2 separate regions of the Homo sapiens genome follow, and region 2 is linked to region 1. Evidence: promoter capture Hi-C in 16 types of primary human blood cells and fetal thymus (Javierre and others, 2016). All regions are on one chromosome and are shown on one strand. Each heading gives the region's core, a stretch centred on a gene start or on the middle of the fragment in contact. The rest is flanking DNA. Distances are from core to core; before and after follow the strand shown.

The links. The method cuts DNA at HindIII sites, captures the fragments that hold promoters and counts their contacts. A CHiCAGO score of 5 or more calls a contact.
Region 2: a contact is called between a fragment that was not itself captured here and the fragment with the promoter of SLC30A6 in region 1, in 1 of 17 cell types (non-activated CD4 T cells). The highest score is 6.8, in non-activated CD4 T cells.

What each region holds. Positions count from the first base shown.
Region 1 is chr2:32,164,289-32,169,401 of GRCh38, reverse strand. It overlaps SLC30A6 (solute carrier family 30 member 6), which reads right to left and starts at 3,538. Exons shown (of 14, transcript NM_017964.5): 1 at 3,499-3,538. The coding sequence starts at 3,501. SLC30A6-DT (SLC30A6 divergent transcript) reads left to right here and starts at 3,663. Exons shown (of 1, transcript NR_185886.1): 1 at 3,663-4,361. RefSeq lists an enhancer at 1,702-2,218. The HindIII fragment of the contact is 4,145 bases long and covers 2,675-5,113 here.
Region 2 is chr2:33,600,284-33,605,095 of GRCh38, reverse strand. LOC105374455 (a long non-coding RNA gene) reads right to left here. Exons shown (of 3, transcript XR_939942.3): 1 at 4,258-4,812. It also overlaps the pseudogene ATP6V0E1P3. Among named protein-coding and RNA genes, the nearest start is that of FAM98A, 3.4 kb to the right of the region's middle. The HindIII fragment of the contact is 3,183 bases long and covers 550-3,732 here.

The sequences.
Region 1 (5,113 bases), core at 2,289-4,788:
AGTTCAAGACCAGCCTAGGAAATATACTGAGACCCTGTCTCTACAAAAAAATTGAAAAGAAAAAAATTAGCCAGGCATAGTGGTACATGCCTGTAGTCCCAGCTACTCAGGACACCAAGGTGGAAGGATCGCATGAGCCCGGGAAGTCAAGCAGTGAGCCAGGTTCACACTTTACTCAAGCCTGGGCAACAGAGCGAGACCCCATCTCGAAATAAATAAATAAATACATAAATAAATGTACATATGTATAAATATTATATATATGTGTATGTACATATGTATATATATTCTTTTCTTAAAGAATTATGTGTGAGTTATTTTGGTTCCAAAGATTTAAAAAATTCTCCTTAATACTGTTATTTTGGACATCTTCTGTTTAACCCTAGCCAACTTTAAGTTTCAGGTTAAGAGAATCAACAAGGTTTCTAAGAGGCAGAAAGCCACTTCTGATGCCATCCTGACAATGAAAATAAAACAAAAATCCTAATGTCATATCACTCTTCCCAAAATTATATTGGCTCGCCATTGCTATCAGAATAAACTACAAATTTTACAACCTGAATTTCCAGGTTTTCAATGACTTAGCCTGTTTCTTTCCAGTCTTATCTCTTACTCCAGATAGAAACCCTCAACTTCAGTTAAACTGGTCTACTCTTTTGTCTCATGACCACTCTTGCGTGAAAAGGCCAGATCTGTCTAACCCAAGCTCTTATTCATATAATGACAAACAAGTATTAGATTAAGAGTATTAGAGTGGGGCACAAAGTACTTAGTTTCATGTTTCACTTCTTAAATGAAGTCTTCCTAGATCATTCCAAACTATAGTGTTTTTTATGCCACTTATTTTGCATTAACCAAAGTAAAGCCTTCAACTTGTTACATTGCTTTGTAATTTTAGTAACTTCACTAATGACAAGGGCTATTTTCCTTTATATTTTGTTTTTATATACTTATATTTTTAATATTATATATTTATATTATTTATATTTTCTAAGAAGGCACTGTTTTCACACAGCATGTTAATAAACACAAAACCTTTTTCTCAATATTTTATTTTAAAATATTTATTTTAAAAAATAAACCTTAAATACTGTTTCCCTGCATGACTAATACTGATGTTTCAAGCATAAAGATATAGTGCCATAGGTTTTCAGTGCTTTATAAAACAGACGTTTTATTTGTATTTTTCTTTATATTTTCTAAGAAAGTACTGTTTTCACATAGCATGTTCTTAATAAACGCAAAACCTTTTCTCAATATCCTTTAAAATAAACCTTAAATACTGTTTCCCTGCATGACTAATACTAATGTTTCAAGCATAAAGATATAGTGCCATAAGTTTTCAGTGTCTTATAAAACAGATGTTTATTGAAAACTTCCTCTGGGCCAGGCACGCTACAAAGCTCTGGGAATTAGGGTGAAATACATAGGTCCTGCTCTCAATGAGCTTACAGTCTAGAAAGTGAGAAAGACAAATAAGTACACAACTTTAACATCGTCTGTAAGGATTACAGATGTTACTGGTAAAAAACACAAGAGATTCAAGTTTTACTTTCTTAAATTAGGGCTGTGAGTTAATGAAGGTGTATAATCTGAAAGACCTCTGAATTTTAAGTCTCTTATCCCTTTATCTTCAACTCCCTTCAAATCATCAGTATTATAGGCAAGTTAAGTTTCTATTGTATGTATTCGTTTTGTGCAGCTTTATGTAACAAAACTGGTGTGTGTGTGTGTGTGTTTGTGCATATAAAAGCACAAGGTACCACCAGAGCACAAAGGAGAAGCAACTAAGAGGATACTGGAACATGAGGGAAAGGTTCATGAAAAATAATTAAGGATATATAAGGGTTATTCTGATAAGGACAGCCGATAGAGAACAGAGAACAATTCTGGGGATGGAAGAGCATATGCAAATTAGGTACAAAGGCTCAATTAATACAGCATGATTTGCAAGCTATTCACTGTGGCTGAAATACGGATGTTGCATACATGTATGCATTAAAAAAAAAAAAAAAAAAAGAGTTTGTGGCCTGGCACGGTGGCTCACGCCTGTAATCCCAGCACTTTGGGAGGCAGAGGCGGGAGGATCACCTGAGGTCAGGAGTTCGCGATCAGCCTGACCAACATGGAGAAACCCCGTCTCTACTAAAAATACAAAATTAGCCAGGCGTGGTGGCGCATTCCTGTAATCCCAGCTGCTCGGGAAGGTGAGGCAGGAGAATCGCTTGAACCCGGGAGGCGGAAGTTGTGGTGAGCCGCGATCGCGCCATTGCACTCCAGCCTGGGCAACAAGAGTGGAACTCCGTCTCGAAAACAACAACAAAAAAAGAGGCTGTAAAAGTAAGAAGCTTGATAATGAGTGGCTTTGTATGCCATGCTAAACAGGACTTTATCTTGAGTGCTACAGAAAAAAAAAAAAGGAGAAAATTTGAGTAAGGGAGTGATGTGGTCAAATTTTAGAAATATAACTCTGGCTACAGGCTTCACAATGGTGAATGTTTTGAAGAAGAGCGTAACTGAAGGCTATTTGATCATTAGCCAAAAAGTGTAAACTTTTACCCATTTTCTGTGTGCAAAAGGATTACAGAAAATTTACAAAACATAAAGTGTGTGAATGAGGCATTTTCCCGACCATATCCACTTAAGTAAAAAACTTAGTACAGTGACAAAAGCTTAGGCACAGAAATGTGGTCTCTTTCTCATACGTAGGCTATCAATAAGTACTCCATAAATTTTTCTAATAAATGCATTTTCAAAAGGCACACGCCACTTGGACACTTCAAATCCCAACCAACTGCTTATCTTTAAAGTTCAGAGCTATATATTTGAGCTCTAAAGGCAAAGAATGACTAATTCTAACAAATTTGAGAGAAAACACCATATCCCAACAACCATAACGTCTACTGGGTCTTCCATTAGTTTCTACAAACCCAGAAATAAAGCAGCAATAAAATGTCCTACCAACACCTTGACTTTCTGTAGTTACTGCGCTTATGAAATTTGCTGCCGTAATCAGGCTACTTAATATTTAGTAAAGCCAAGTTGCAGAGTGAGACGTCTGCCCTAAAACCCTATTACTAACCTTTTTTTTTTTTTTCCGCTGGCGTTATCGCCACTGCTCTAAGAATCACTATTACAGTTGTTGCTGTGGACTTGTTTTCAGATCTTTTGTTGGTGGCCTAGTTGTTGACGCTGGCAAAAACTTTTATTACCTTAAAGAAATCTCGGCAGAGGGAAGTCAGAAACTCGCCAGGAGCTGAAAGCTCTGCCTGCAGCGGGGCCTAGATCGTGAGCGCCTGCGGAACAGGTGAGGGACCGAAAGGGACCAGAACTCTGAAGGGGAACATTTTGGGAGACAGCCGCTCCTGCCAAGGGGCCCGACTTCAACTCCAATGACCCCTCCTCTGGGTGGCTGAGGGATTTCAAGGTCGCTTCGGGACCAAATAAGATAAACCGAATCAGCTACAGCCGAAACCCTCACCCCAACAGCCAACTCACCATGATAAGGAGCTGCACAGCTCCCGCCGGAAGCCGTTCTGGGTGCTCGAGTTTTCCCAGAACGGAAGGGGTGGGGCACCAGTGGGCGATTGGCTGTGAGGAAAGCGTGGGAGGAAGTGCGTGCTCTGGCCTCCGGCTTCCGTCCCCTTCCCGGCTGTCCCTGCACTCCGTGGCGGAAGGCGGCTAGAGCGGCTCCCTCTGAGCTCTCCGAGAGATTGGTCGGGACCTGAAGCGTTGAGGTTAAGGGCAAGGCAAGGAGCAACGAGGAGTTTTTCGTTACGTTAGAAAAATTTCGTTGCGTGCTGAAGCGCTTTTACCTGTGTTGTATGATTTAACCTTATGAAAATGGACAGTATTCCAGTTTTACAAGTGAGGAAAGAAGATTAAGAAACTTGCCTCCGCCAGGCGTGGTGGTTCACTCCTGTAATCCCAGCACTTTCGGCGGCGAGGCAGGCGGATCACTTGAGGTCAGGAGTTCGAGACCAGCCTGGCCAACATGGTGAAACCCCGGCTCTACTAAAAATGCAAAAATTAGCCGGGCGTAGTGGCACGCGCCTGTAATCCCAGCTACTCTGGAGGCTGAGGCAGGAGAATCGCTTGAACCTAGGAGGCGGAGGTTGCAGTGAGCCGAGATCGCGCCACTACACTCCAGCCTGGGCGACAGCGCGAGACTCCGTCTCAAAAAAAAGAAACTTGCCTTGAGTCCTACATATAGTTTGCTGTAGTAGCAGAATTTGAACTCGGACCGACTAATGGTCTACTTAATAAAATGCTATTTGGATTCTCTATAAAATTAATAATATAGAAGTAATGTTAATTATAGAAAACTTGGAAAATATTAAATTCATTCGATAAAGATTGAATATGTAGCACGTGTGTTTGTCAGATACTGGTCTCGTGAAAATTATATTCTGGTAGGGAAGACAGAAAACAAGTAGGGATAAAGAAATTTTTAAAAGATATTCATAAGTAGTGTCGTGTAGAAAACTGGGTATAGGTTGAGTATCCTTCATCCCAAATGCTTAAGACCAGAACTGTTTCAGATTGTGGCTCTTTATCTTGGGGATGGGGCCAGAGGCTAAACTTGAAATTCATTTATGTTTCGTATACACCTTATGCACATAGCCTCAGGGTAATTTTATGCAATTTTAAAAATTGTGTGTGTATCAAACAAAATTTTGACTACAGCTTTTTACATGCGGTCAGGTGTGGAATTTTCCACTGTGGCATCGTGTTGATGATCAAAAAGTTTTGATTTTGGAGCATTTTAATTTCAGATGGTTGGATTAGGGTTGCTGAACATGTAATGGTATACAGAACAACTGAGTAGGTGTGGTGCTCACGTCTGTAATCCCAGCACTTTGGGAGGCCTAGGCGGGCGAATCACGAGGTCAGGAGTTTGAGACCAGCCTGGCCAACATGGTGAAACCCTGTCTGTACTAAAGATAAAAAAAATTAGCTGGGCGTAGTGGCGGGTGCCTGTAATCCCAGCTGCTAAGAAGGCTGAGGCAGGAGAATTGCTTGAACCCGGGAGGCAGAGGTTGCAGTGAGGCGAGATCGTGCCCCTGCTCTCCAGCCTGGGCAACAGTGCAACACTTCATCTCAAAAAAATAAA
Region 2 (4,812 bases), core at 892-3,391, 1.4 Mb before region 1:
GGAGTTCCATGAGACTGGAATAGGCAGAGAAAGGAGGAGAGGCCCATGGGAGACAGGGTAGAAAAAGTGATAGACCTGCTTAACAAGTAAAAGACTAAACAAGGTTGGAAATCCCAAACCATAATGCAGGGCAAATAAATGCCTGGATGTTCACACATATGACATAATGTGTGACTTACAGGGTCCAGAAAACAGAGGGAACTGGTAGATCCATACCCCATGTTGAAGGGGCAACCTGCTCAACCCAAGCCAATCATTGCCTTTATGGGCAATGAGGTTCCTCCAATGCTGCCAAATCAGCAGACGTTTTCGCCCCAGAAAAGCCAGACACTCAGATTTTTAAAATAAAATCTCCAAACTTTTAAATGTAAGCTCAGTTCTTTAACTTATTAAACAGGCCAAACAAAATACAACGCTTGGTCTGGTGTGAAGGCTAGTTTATTACCTCTAGGCTACAGTCTAATAAGCTCTTACTGCATCCAAATTAGATGGGTTTCTATCTGGTTCACTGTGTGCCTGATTGCAGAACATGGCAACTAGGCTGAAGCTTTGTTGGGAGAACAACAGAAATCAAATTTGGAGCTTTTATTCTGGAAAGATCTGGATATATCTCTGTGTGTGTTTTTGTATATATATACACATTTGTGTGTGTGAATGTGTGTGTGTGAATATATATATATATATATATATACACACGTACATTCACACACATAGCACTTCCTTTGTTTAGTTTAAACACAGGCAAGATGTTGTTCTCAAACTTTGTAATATTCTCTAAAAATTGCCAGGGCTCAGAAACTATACTAACATAGCCAGAGGAATGATTTGAAAAAACAGCATTCTTTAGTAATATAAAGTATTTGAGACCATACAAGATTTAATTCTACATGCTAACTTAAAAAAAAAAAGAGTTGTGCTTTCACTGTGCAAGCTGAAAAGGACTTTATTTAGCAACATATACAAACTTGCATTTCTGAGCAACACCAGTAAATCTATGGTCTTTCTATTTTCTCCTTGCTGGAGGGTCATTCTAAAGATAAATTCACTAAAAATGGAAAATGCTGCTATTTTTCAGACAGTGTTCTTTTATTTTTGATAGAAAAGTTATTTGTTTTAGATGCCTATTTAATCACCTCTTAGAAACCAATCCATGACAAATCTTATATTTGAGCTTATACCTACCTCTTTTCCATGATAAAAAATTACTTCTATAGATGCTAGAAGTAACTTTCTTAAAGATGTCAGCTGCATAAATTTTTAATTACTATATAATTAAAAACCTTCTAATAATTTTTAAGGTTATGACTTATAAAACATGTTCCTCTGGAAACTGAAATCAGTTTTCAATTTTCCCATTTACATTTCTTTCACAAGTGAAAAAAATAATTTGTCTTTATTCTCTTCAAGAAGAGCTAGAAAAGGCTGATCTTTAAGATCATTCATTGTTTCTACTCTCCAGGAAAGGCAGTGTGGTATGGACCCCCCTCCCCCGAAAACTATCTGCATCATAATCGTTGGAACATGAGACTATGGAAAAAGGGACTTTGCAGGTGTGGTTAAATTGAAGATCTTAAGGTTGGGAGATTATTCTGGATTATCTGGCACAAGGATGGGGGTCCTTATAAGTAAAAGAGGGAGGCAGGAAGGTAAGAGGGCATGACTACCATGTAGCAGGGGTCGGAGTGGTGTTGCTGGTCTTGATGAAGGAGGGGAGTCATAAGCCAAGGAAGGTGGGTGGCCTCTAGAAACCAAAACAGGGAAGAAAACAGATTCTCTCCTAGAGATTCCAGAAGAAATGCAAACCTGCCCATTTTTGCCAGGTGAGATCCATTTCAGGTGTCTGACCTCCAGAGCTGTAAGATAATAAATCTGTCTTGTTTTAAGCCTCTAAATTTGTGGTAATCTGTAGCAGCAGCAGTTAAGAATATGGACAGTAACCAGACTCCCTCAAAGATGGGACACTAGAATAGCTTTATTTTATATTTTATTTTATCTATAGAAAACAGAAAAATGATTTATTCCAAAAGATGGCAGAAATGAGAAATTCATGCTGAAAATATACCTTGGGCCGGATGTGGTGGCTCATGACGGGGTGCAGTGGCCAAGGTGGGCGGATTGCTTGAGCCCAAGATTTTGAGACCAGCCTGGGCAACATGGCAAAACCGTCTCTACCAAAAAATAAAAAAACTTAGCCAGGCATGGTGGCCAGCGGCTGCAGTCCCAGCTACTTGGGAGGCTGAGGCAGGAGGATCACTTGAGCCCAGGAGGTTGAGGCTACGAGATCACCACTGCACTTCAGCGGGAGCGACAGAGCAAAACTCTGTTTAAAAAGGAAGAAAGAAAAAAAAAAGAACACATAATTTGGTGTAATTCTGTTGGGAGAGCTCTTTCCTCTGAACGTCCTCTCCTACTGACTGCCCCACTGGAGTCTTGTCAGGCAGTAGTACGTTCTAAATAGTTCACTGATTCCCATGTTATGAGAAGGCAGGAGCCACTACAAATCCACAAATTCCAAGGACATAATAACACATTTCTCAGAAGAAAAGCATCTTCTCTCTCAAAAGAGTGCATTATCATTTTGAGGAGTTGGCACAGTTTAGGTTAAGTAGGCACATAATTCATTAAAGCATAAAAAAGTTGAAGAAAAAAATGCTGCATTGTGTTAGACATTCAAATGTGGTGTGAATGTTTAAGGCAGCTGATGCCCAAAATAAGCAAGTCAAGAAAAGTGGTGTGGTTTGGATTTTGCATCTAGAAGGAATTCTTTTCTCATGACTGCTAAGACTGAGCACTGTAAAGCCTGTCTTCCTCAAGGCCAATGACACTTCGGATACCAGATGATTTCATGTTTCAACTGCAGTCTGAAGAGAGGGTTGAGTTGGCCAGGATTGCAATCAGCCAAAAGAGACAGCAACAAACTGAACAGGTCACCTACATGGTAATGATAACTCCCTACTTAGGACCCTTAGGGATGAACCAAGGCATGAAGAAACCAGTGAAGCCCTAAAACACGCTCATTGCAATGAGACGTATGGTGAGGCCCTGATATGCCATGCTTACCGCTGGTCTGCCAGCCCCTGCCCCTCTGCCTCACTTGGGTCCCACCTGGAAGTCATTTTTAATTAATTTTTTTTTTTTTAACAGAGACAGAGTCTTGCTATGTTGCTCAAGCTGGCCTTGAACCCCTGGCTTCAAGTAATCGTCCTGCCTCAGCCTCCCAAAGTGCTGGGATTGCAGGTCTGAACTACCGCGCCAGACCCTAGAAGGGTTTTAAGTTGGTATTTTATATTCTTTTTTGAGAAAGAATCTAGAATCAAAGTCATCAGTAAAAGGGCATGTGCTGGCACTTGTGGGTGTGCCTTCTCACAAGAGTACCCTTAAGTAATTATTCAGCCTCTAGGTGAACACCTTCTAGACAGGAAGCTCATCATCTCTCAACGATACCTAAGTCACTTTAAGACTACTCTTAGAGTGTTAGAAAAATTCTTTCTTATACTGATCTGATGCAAAAACCAGAGCTTCCTCACTTCCAAATCATTGTTCCTTTCATTCTAGTAAACTCAGTTTCAAAGAGGTCTTCAGATATCAGGTTCCATTATAAACATAAATAATTTCTAAATAAAATGCAAAAGATTCCTCGTAGATCCCATTAAAATGATGACAATTTTTTTTCTTTCTTTCTGAGCCTGCCTGGTAGGGAACACAATTTTGTTTAAGTAGTATTTAAAAGCTTTTTTTAATTGCAGAGAAAGCCATTGTAGAATTCCTTTAAACCATAATATATAAAAATTTCATATCAGCAATCCTTCATTTAAGCTAACGATGTGAATTAGAAAGAGAATACTATTCCTGCAAAAGCTGGATTTTTTTTAAAGAAAGAAAGGGAATACTAATACTTTTAGGGAAGTCATCACTCGTTCATTCACTAATATTGAACACAATATTATATTCAATATTAGTTCAATATTGAACACAGCTTACATCAAAAGTGAGTCAAGAATGAAACCCTTTTTCTTTCAAAATTGATTTTTGTATTAGGCATGACTTTTTGTTTAGCACCTTCAACAACCCTATGAGGAAAATAATTATTCAATTATTATAAGGTAATTATGTACAATATATACAAGTTTAAACAAATTCAACTAGCTAAATTTTCCTCTTTTCACATCCTGCGTATAAATCCTTATTTGACTAGTCAAAAAAGAAGGAATATGGATTTAGATATACCTCAATCTCAAAATCTAGTTTCATACTTACAGGCATTAAGATCGCTGAAGATTATTAAGCCACTCAGCCTTAGTGTCCTCATCTGTAGAATGTGACTAATATTCACACAGCCTTATGGTGACTGCATCATAATGGGCCATATCAAGTGCCCATGGTAAGTGCAGAAAACCTACCCCCACTTCAGATGATGCAAAATAAGGAAACTGAAAAAGGTACTACTGGCCGGGCGCGGTGGCTCACGCCTGTAATCCCAGCACTTTGGGAGGCCAAGGTGGGCGGACCACAAGGTCAGGAGATCGAGACCATCCTGGCTAACATGGTGAAACCCCGTCTCTACTAAAAATACAAAAAATTAGCTGGGTGTGGTGGTGAACGCCTGTGGTCCCAGCTACTTGGGAGGCTGAGGCAGAATAATGGCGTGAACCCGGGAGGCGGAGCTTGCAGTGAGCCGAGATCGCACCACTGCACTCCAGCCTGAGCGACAGAGCAAGACTCCGTCTCATAAAAAAAAAAAAAAAAAAAGAAAGAAAAGAAAAAGGTACTACTAAGGATAGGAACATCTATCCATCAGACACAAAAATGCTT